Linked DNA regions of Homo sapiens: region 1 is linked to region 2. Evidence: promoter capture Hi-C in human tissues and cell types (Jung and others, 2019). All regions are on one chromosome and are shown on one strand. The core of a region is centred on a gene start or on the middle of the fragment in contact, and the rest is flanking DNA. Distances in the headings are between cores, read along the strand shown. Region 1 overlaps STX18 (syntaxin 18). Region 2 holds the start of CYTL1 (cytokine like 1).

Region 1 (3,984 bases), core at 138-2,637, 510 kb before region 2:
TTTGCAGCACTATTTACAATGGCAAAGACATGGAACGAACCCAAAGGCCCATCAATGATAGACTGGATAAAGCAAATGTGGCACATATACACCGTGGAATACTATGCAACCATAAAAAAGAATGAGATCACGTCCTTTGCAGGGACATGGATGAAGCTGGAAGCCATCATTCTCAGCAAACTAACACAGGAACAGAAAACCAAACACCACTTGTTCTCACTCATAAGTGGGAATTGAACAAGGAGAACACATGGACACAGGGAGGGGAACAACACACACTGGAGCCTGTTGTGGGGTGGAAGACAAGGGGGAGGGAGAGCATTAGGACAAACGCCTAATGCATGCAGGGCTTAAAACCTATATGACGGGTTGACAGGTACAGCAAACCACCATGGCACATGTATACCTATGTAACAAACCTGCACATTCTGCACATGTATCCTAGAACTTAAAGTAAAATTTAAAACATTTAAAAAAAGAAATCCATGCCATGGCTTGAATGTAGGTTGGAAGATGAATCAAAGGTACAATGCATTCTGACAGTTTCAAAGAGGAATGCAGCTTGTCCAGCCTACGCTAATGTGGACTCTCACAGTTCCTTGTGCCAGCAATGCTTTATCAAGGACTTCATATGACAGCTATGTTTTGTTCTATGAAACTGAACACTTGATTTTTATCATAATCATTCCTAAAAATAGTGATTTCATCTCTAATACATGAGTTGAATATTAATCGTAAAACAAATCTTAGGGAGGACAGCATAATTTTGATGCAATCCTAGTAGCAATTTCTGAATAGCCTTTGCTTCAATAGTTTGGAATATGTATTGTTTAGGTACCCAAGGCAGTCTAGAAGTAGCTATTTGAATCTATGTGGTAGGGGAATCAATAGTCCTTCTAAACCTGGGTGATGGCGTATTTGTATACTAGGGCAGCTATAAACTGAAAAATCTTAAATATGGGACTGAAAATACATACAATCACCAAACAACACTCATGATTAGTGTGTGTGTGTGTGTGTGTGTGTGTGTGTGTGTGTGTGTGTGTGTGTATGCCCCTAGGTTAAGGTCCTCTTAAGCATAAACTAATTCTAGCTAGCTTTCCAAAACAGAAGGAGAGGAGATTTGAAAAATACTAAGGTAATGTATGAAGGATGGGTTAAAGTTCAGGTTTTATCAACCTAAGCCCTATTGACATTTTGGGCTGGATAATACTTTGTCTGGGGGCGGAGGTGGGGGTGTTTGTGGGAGAGCTGTACATTGTAGAATGTTTAGCAGCATTCCTGGCCTCTTTCTGCTAGATGCCAGTAGTAGCCCCCTAGCTGTAATAACCAAAAATGTCTCCAGATATTGGCAAATATCCCCTAGAAGCAAAATTGCACGAGCCACTGGTTTAAATGATCAAAAGATGGGAACGGCAAGGATACAGCTAGCCTCTGCAACAACTAAACCAGATATTTAAAACTCCTCTAGAACTCTCTTAACTCCTACTTGTTTTGTCTGCATTTTAGCCTTAATTTTCTCATTGCAGCTCAGCAATGAAAACTGGCCACCAACAGCTCCCGAGCTTTGTTTGCTGAAATCCAGGCCTCTGGACTAAGAATAATTCTTTTTCCTAATTCCAATTAAAAAAAAAAATCTTAGGAAAGGATTCTGATTGGCCTGATTTGAGTCTGGTTGCTACCCCTGGTCCATGACCTAGAGAGTAGAAGATACTATGGAAACACAGCAGCTTGTACTGAAACCACTTGATTGAAGCCAGAGTGGGGATGAGTTCCCAGGAAGAAGGCAGGCACTATTGTTGACAGAAGGGTGGTTTCAGGACCAAGAATAGGTATGTGCCACAATCATCTACTGCTGATTAACAAGCACACCATAGAGCAAACAGCCAGGACATTACCAGTCCTGTATAATACTGAACTAGATTTGCTTTTCTGCATTTGAGGCACGTTTGTGAGTTAGGTACTCTGGGAAGCATGAGTTGGTAAGCAGGTAAGCAGAATACACAATATCTAAGCTTGAAGGCTTTTTCACCAACGTATCTTACAGTGACTTCCTGGATGACACATTTAAGTAACCCACAGATGAAAACTGGGAATATTGTTACTAAATATTGCTCAAAGTTAGACATGGCAAAAAGCTGGCAGTTGGTATGCTTTGTGGGCTATTAATAAAATATACTTTTAACATGCGACTCTGCCTCAGTCAACAGAAGACCATAATTGACCAACCATTGCTCAGTTTGTGGGCTGACAGAAAACCAAATGTTTGCCTTGAAACTCCAACTGGGTTCAAGAATAAAATCCAGGAATATAATAATAATATACATATCAAACGGACATAAGGGTATTCAATTTAGAATTTAAAGAAGGAAGCAGTCTAAGCTGAAAAATTTTAAGACTTCCCAGAGAATGAGAGGAGACAGACACAGGAAATCCTTCCCTGGTTGTCTCTTTAGGAAACCTCAGAAATTCGGTTCTATGTTAAGTAAAGAAGTACCTGTACTTTGAGAGTGGAGATTCTGATAGAGGGGGGGACCCTCGTCTGGCCTGGATCTCAAATCTCAGCTTTGCCTTAGGCAAGCCAGAGCTCATGGGGTTTCCCATTCATCTGGGATCTTCCAGTAGAAGTAGACTCAAGCGCCTGATTACAGCTTTATCCCAGAAGCAGCACCACTTTATCCAGCCAGGAGCCAATCATAACCAAAGGATAGAGAAACAGGTTTGAAGAAGGAAAGGAAAGTGTGGGGGATTTCAACCAACAGAGTCACAGACTGCTTCGTGGAAGTCATCTAATGGTCATGGCCCTCACTGCTCTGTTCTTGGATCTTATGGTTGCTTTTAGAGGCCACATTCCCCGGTGAGCAACATACTCAAATAGACACTACTGTTTTCAAAAGTAGATTATTTAAATGTGACACACTGAAAATCTCTAAAATCAGGTTAGTAAAAATCACACTGCTACATCTTAAACAGATACCCGACAAAACAGCATGGCCAATGAAATCTTTAATGCTGAGTAAAAACTACCCCAGCACTCAATCTTGACAGCAAAGCCAGAGGTCTGGGATATCTCCTTGCTACTGCAGTAATGAATTGCCAGTTGACTGTGATGAGACAATCATAAACTTCTATTTTTTTCTTAAAAAGACTGATGTTCCATCACTGCTTTTATAAATGATGTGATTTCTTCCCCTTTTAACCTGAGGGCAGGGGTGTGATAAAGACACTGACGTCCTTAGCGGGGGTAAGGACATGTAATTACGTTAAGAGTCAATACTGGAGAAAGAACTCGAGAGGGCAGCTTCCATTGCAGGAGAGAATCCAGCCTAAAGGAGACATGACATCAACCACATACTTCAAAATCCACATGGCCAGGACTTGTATATCATGGCTTCACTGTATCAAGCGGCACCTTGAAAGTAGTAAGTATTCAATACTGTTTACTGACTATTTCTGCAAGGCTTCTCCAAGAATCATGAAGAAAAGGATACACGTAGATATATGAATCAGAAAAATGCTTCTCAGTCTTCTCACTGCAGATGGAGAAAGCAGTTCCATAAAAATTGCCATAAGTAAAGCTATCAACTTGTTAAGCACAGCAACAGATAGTGCAGCTTCAATGGAAAATGGAGACTTCATGAATAAAATTCATTCTCTCACTGGTCTCATTAAAAACATTTAAAGTGAGAAATTTTAAAAAGTTCTATCTTTCAGTTATTTCGTTATGGCAAAAAAGAGAGTTATATGTTATTTAGATGTGATTTCTACTAACTTTTAAAAATTCTTCACTCCTACCTTTCAATACTAAGATTCCGAATGGATGATCCACTCTGTCCTCATTTGGTCAACAAGGAGCAAGTGCCTGTCACAAGCCAGGCACTGTGTTTTAAGCAGTAATACAATAGGATAGGATAACATCCATCTAGTCTTTGATCCGAAGGAGCTTACAATCCAGTGAAAGTGGCATAAACAGGTTAATCAGAG
Region 2 (4,134 bases), core at 753-3,252:
ACGTATATACATAAAAGCAGTCCTATAACTGTAATATAGAAATAGTGATATATAATACAGTAATACAAGTATACATACAGAGTATATATGTACATCTATAAAACAGTTCTATAACTATTTAGTTATATAACAGTTGTATAAGTTAGTTATATAGTAACTTATATAATAATATACTTATATAATAACTTATATAAGTATATTAGCTATATAACAGTTGTATAACTGCATGTAATTATAGACATTATATATACTTACATAAGTACGATATATGTAATAATACCTATTGTTCTATAGGCATTCTATAGCTAATATGTAGTTGTATATAGTGTATAATATAGTAATATCGAAGTGCATAAATTTGCATACTTTTATATTTCTATATTGGGCTTCCGTTTTTGCGCAGGGCTGAAGGGCAAAAGCCCTCGTGCTCTGCCCTCTCAGTAATCCCCGTGTGACCATGGGCAAGTGCCTTCCTTCAGTCCTCAGTTGTGAAATTAGAGATTTAGAATGCATAATCTTTCCACTTTCTTCCCGCTCTGTGGTTCAGAGCCTCTGAACTTTTTAAACCTTTTAAAATCAGATTCCTTTAAAAGATGATTGCTGTCTATATTCGATAACAAGAAACTTGTGGGTAAATTGTGGTGAAACTGTACAACAAAATGTTAAAACAAAAATGAACTTATTTGATAGTGTCATTAAAAAGTAAGTTGCAAAACTGCTTGTGCTGTTTGACCCAAATTTTGTTTACACACACACACACACACAACACACACGTATTTGAATACCTATATGTAGACAGAAAGCTGAAATATGATCCTCCACAATGCTACGGCAGCAGCTACCTCTAGGTGGTAGAATTACAAGCAAGATTTTTTTTCTTCTTTGTACTTTATTTTCCAACTGTTCTACAAAGTACAATACTTTTATAATTAGGGAAAAAATACATGTTATTTAACTTTTAAAAAGAAAATACCAAGAAGGTGTTAGCTAGGCTTTTGTAAACCCCAACATCTGAGAAACATTATGTTTTGTTTGAAGCATTTGCAAGTGATTAAAAGACACTTTGAAACTTTACAAAAGCTTTTAATGAAGTTTAATGCATTTTGTTTCGACGGAGAAGCAGGCAGAGGCCTGGGTTCTAGTCCCCAAAAGCCCTCCCGGGTCTTCCCCTCTCTGAGTCCCCAGATCTGCCTCTGAAGATCGTGCTCACATCAGCTGGCATCTGTTGAGTACTTGTTCCTGTAGGCTTGGCTCTGTGAGCCCTGCCTGTGTTCACACCTGCCTTTGATCGTCAAAGCCACTCTAAAGGGAGGGGTGCTACTGTCATCCCATTTTACAGACAAGAAAACTGAAAGGCAGAGGCTGAGAAATTTGCCCGGGTCCCTCAGCAGATGAGGGGCGGAGGCCAGTTCTGTGAGCCACCTCTTAGGGCACACTCCTCACTAGGCTAACAAAAGCAATACACAAGCTTCATTCCTCCGTCCTCCTTAACTCTGATGGGGAGCTGTTTTTCTCCCCATCCTCCCACTCCTTTTTTTTTCTTTTTTCTTTTTTTTTTTTTTTTTTTTTTTTACATTTTACAACAGATCCTTTGATATTTGCTAGTAAGTCACAAAAATTGTGTTGTCTTTACTTTTTCTTGTGTTTTGAAGAAAGCAAACCATTGGTATCATATTTAAAAGGAGATGAATAAAACACAAATACTCCTGAGATTTACATTTACTAGAAAAGAAAAATATCCTTTTCTCTCTCTCTCTCTTTTTTTTTTCGTGTAAAGGCAAGGGTTTAAGAACTGGGTCTGCCATGCACCCCTGTCCTGAGCGGGCGGGGGACTCACCGAGGGCTCCGAGACCTGCAGGAGGTTGAAGTCGCGGGTGATCTCCTGGCTCAGGGCCCGCATGCGGGAGTAGCAGGTCGGGGGAGTGGGCCGCGCGGCGGGGGCTCCCGCCAGGAGCAGCAGCAGCACGGGCAGAGGCCCAGGCGTCCTCATGGTGCCAGGCGCTGGTGCAGCCTCGCCGACCGCCCCTTTATGCAGGCTGGGGGTGGTCCAGGGCGGCTCCACGCCTCCACTTCCTGTGGGGCCAGCGCAGGCTGCGGTCCATCCAGGGTGGCAGAGAGGAAGCCAGCACGCCCACCGGGCAGGGTCGGGACAGGAATCCTCTCAGACACGAAAGCCCCAGGTTAAGAGGAGGGGCTGCCTGGAGGAGGGGGTGACAGAGGGTGGCTTTGCCTCCCCCACACTTTCAGCAAGAAATTTCTTTCTGCACAGGGACTTTTCCTGAAAAGGCAGGAACAGCAGATGGAGAGGGGTGGGGGATAAGAGGAGGACAGAGATGGAAGGAGGGGAGGGTCAGAGGAGAGGAGTGGGCAGTCAGGCCTGGGTTTGGATGGCACGGTTTGTCAAAATGGATATAGTGCCAGGAGGGAAAGGGACTAGCAGGGGATGACTGAGCATCCCTCCCTCCAGGCAGCCCGCAGTGGAGCAGGGATGCAGAGCTGCGGTCAGGCCACCGGTGTCCTCGTCCATCAATCGCTAACCAGGTAGGTGAGCCTTGGGCCAGGGCCCCCAGCCTCTCAGAAGCCGTGTGTGTCTCTCGGTCCGGAGGATGGGCTCACTGAGCGGCCGTATGTGTGGGGAGTGTGAGTACCCCCACCCTCTTCTACCTCAAGCTCCCAGCACAGGCCCCGAGGGAGAGCAGACCCTCAGGAAGGGTTAGTTTTCAAGAAGTGCATCTCCCTCAGGGCTAACTTCCCAAGACAGTGGCAGGTAAAGGTCTAGGCTCTCCACTTAGACGCCGTGGGTGCAAAGCAGGGTCACCGCCTTCTGGCTTTGACCTTGGGCAAGTTTCTTCAGTGTTTCCTCCATCTCCTTATCTGTGAGATGAGGCTGGTGAGAGTGGCTCACTCAAAAGGCCATAGTGAGGAATCAACAGGATATAGCATGACTGAGCAAGCCTCATGCCAGGCCCATTGTGTGTTTCCAAGTGATCGGAGCTAATAGCACTGTCTCTGTTAAATCCAGCAATTGTCTCTGTGAGGTAGGTGCCACAGAAAAGAGTCCCATTTTCCAGGTGGGAAAACTGAGGCTCAAGAGTTCCAGCAACTTGCTGGAGGTCACAAAGCTGGAGGCACATGGGTTGGGATGAGACTTCAGGCCCTGTCCTCCTGCCATTCTTCCATCCCACAGGGCAGGATGGGTGAGGAGCAGGACTCTTGCAGGCAGAGATGAGTTGGGGTCCTCAGGCTGCCCAAGATCAGGCAACAAGCAAGAAGGAACTGTCAAAAGGGAGAAGATTCTTCCTTAACACTGAACATGACTTACATACCAGCAGCCACCAGGCCAGCTGCCATTGGGAACGCTATGACCCTCACAGCCAGCCAATGAAGTGAATGGGGTTATTCCCAATTCCCAGGCGAGGAAACTGAGGGCCTCGGGGGATGTGAAGCTGGGAAGAGCAGTGGAGCCCTGGAGCTATGTCTGGACTTTCCTGCCTCCAAAGCTTCCTCCAACAAAGGAGGAAAGGGGAGCATCCTGGGCAAGCTCCACATTCCCAGAACAAAACAACCAAAGATGCAGCCCACAGGGATGGGTGAACCAGAGCATGGCATCCTGGACACAGGGCTGGACTGAGGATCAACCACAGGGATGAAGCCCGGCTCCAGCTTGTCCCCACTGTATTTGCCAGGAGAAATCCCTTCTCGACCTGGCCTCCATTCCCTGTCTGTAAACAGGATAGCATCACGCTGGGCGATGTCTGAGGTTCCTTCCAGCCCCAGTGTTTTATTTATCTAGTTTCTGGTGGTAAAAGCCCTGGGCAGGGACTGTAAGCTGTGCCTTCCTGTTTTGTAGGTGAGAATGTGTTCTCTAAACACCTTTAGCAAGATGACATAGGGACCGCGGCCTTCGGGCAGAACTGTGTGTGCTTGGAGGTGGCAAGTGGAGGCACAGATGTGTTTTCTTCTGGGTGAAGGAGTCTCCACACTCCCTCCATGATAGTGCCTGGGGCATGGGCCTCCCTGGCAGAATAGCTGGCCCCAGCTGGGGACTCTAGGTCTGCTTTAAAATGCTCTAGGGCTTCTGGATGTGCTCAAGGAATGGGCTTAAATTCAGAGCAGGGAAGAAAAACAAGCCCA

What was found. The method cuts DNA at HindIII sites, captures the fragments that hold promoters and counts their contacts. A contact is called where the count stands out against the background at its distance.
Region 1: a fragment that was not itself captured here is called in contact with the fragment with the promoter of CYTL1 in region 2 in 1 of the 25 tissues and cell types used here (lymphoblastoid cells).

What each region holds. Positions count from the first base shown.
Region 1 is chr4:4,510,712-4,514,695 of GRCh38, forward strand. All of the region lies in intron 1 of STX18 (syntaxin 18), which reads right to left. Among named protein-coding and RNA genes, the nearest start is that of STX18, 29 kb to the right of the region's middle. The HindIII fragment of the contact is 4,474 bases long and covers 1-3,624 here.
Region 2 is chr4:5,017,456-5,021,589 of GRCh38, forward strand. It overlaps CYTL1 (cytokine like 1), which reads right to left and starts at 2,003. Exons shown (of 4, transcript NM_018659.3): 1 at 1,838-2,003. The coding sequence starts at 1,990. It also overlaps a transcript of STK32B not described here. The HindIII fragment of the contact is 2,782 bases long and covers 1,275-4,056 here.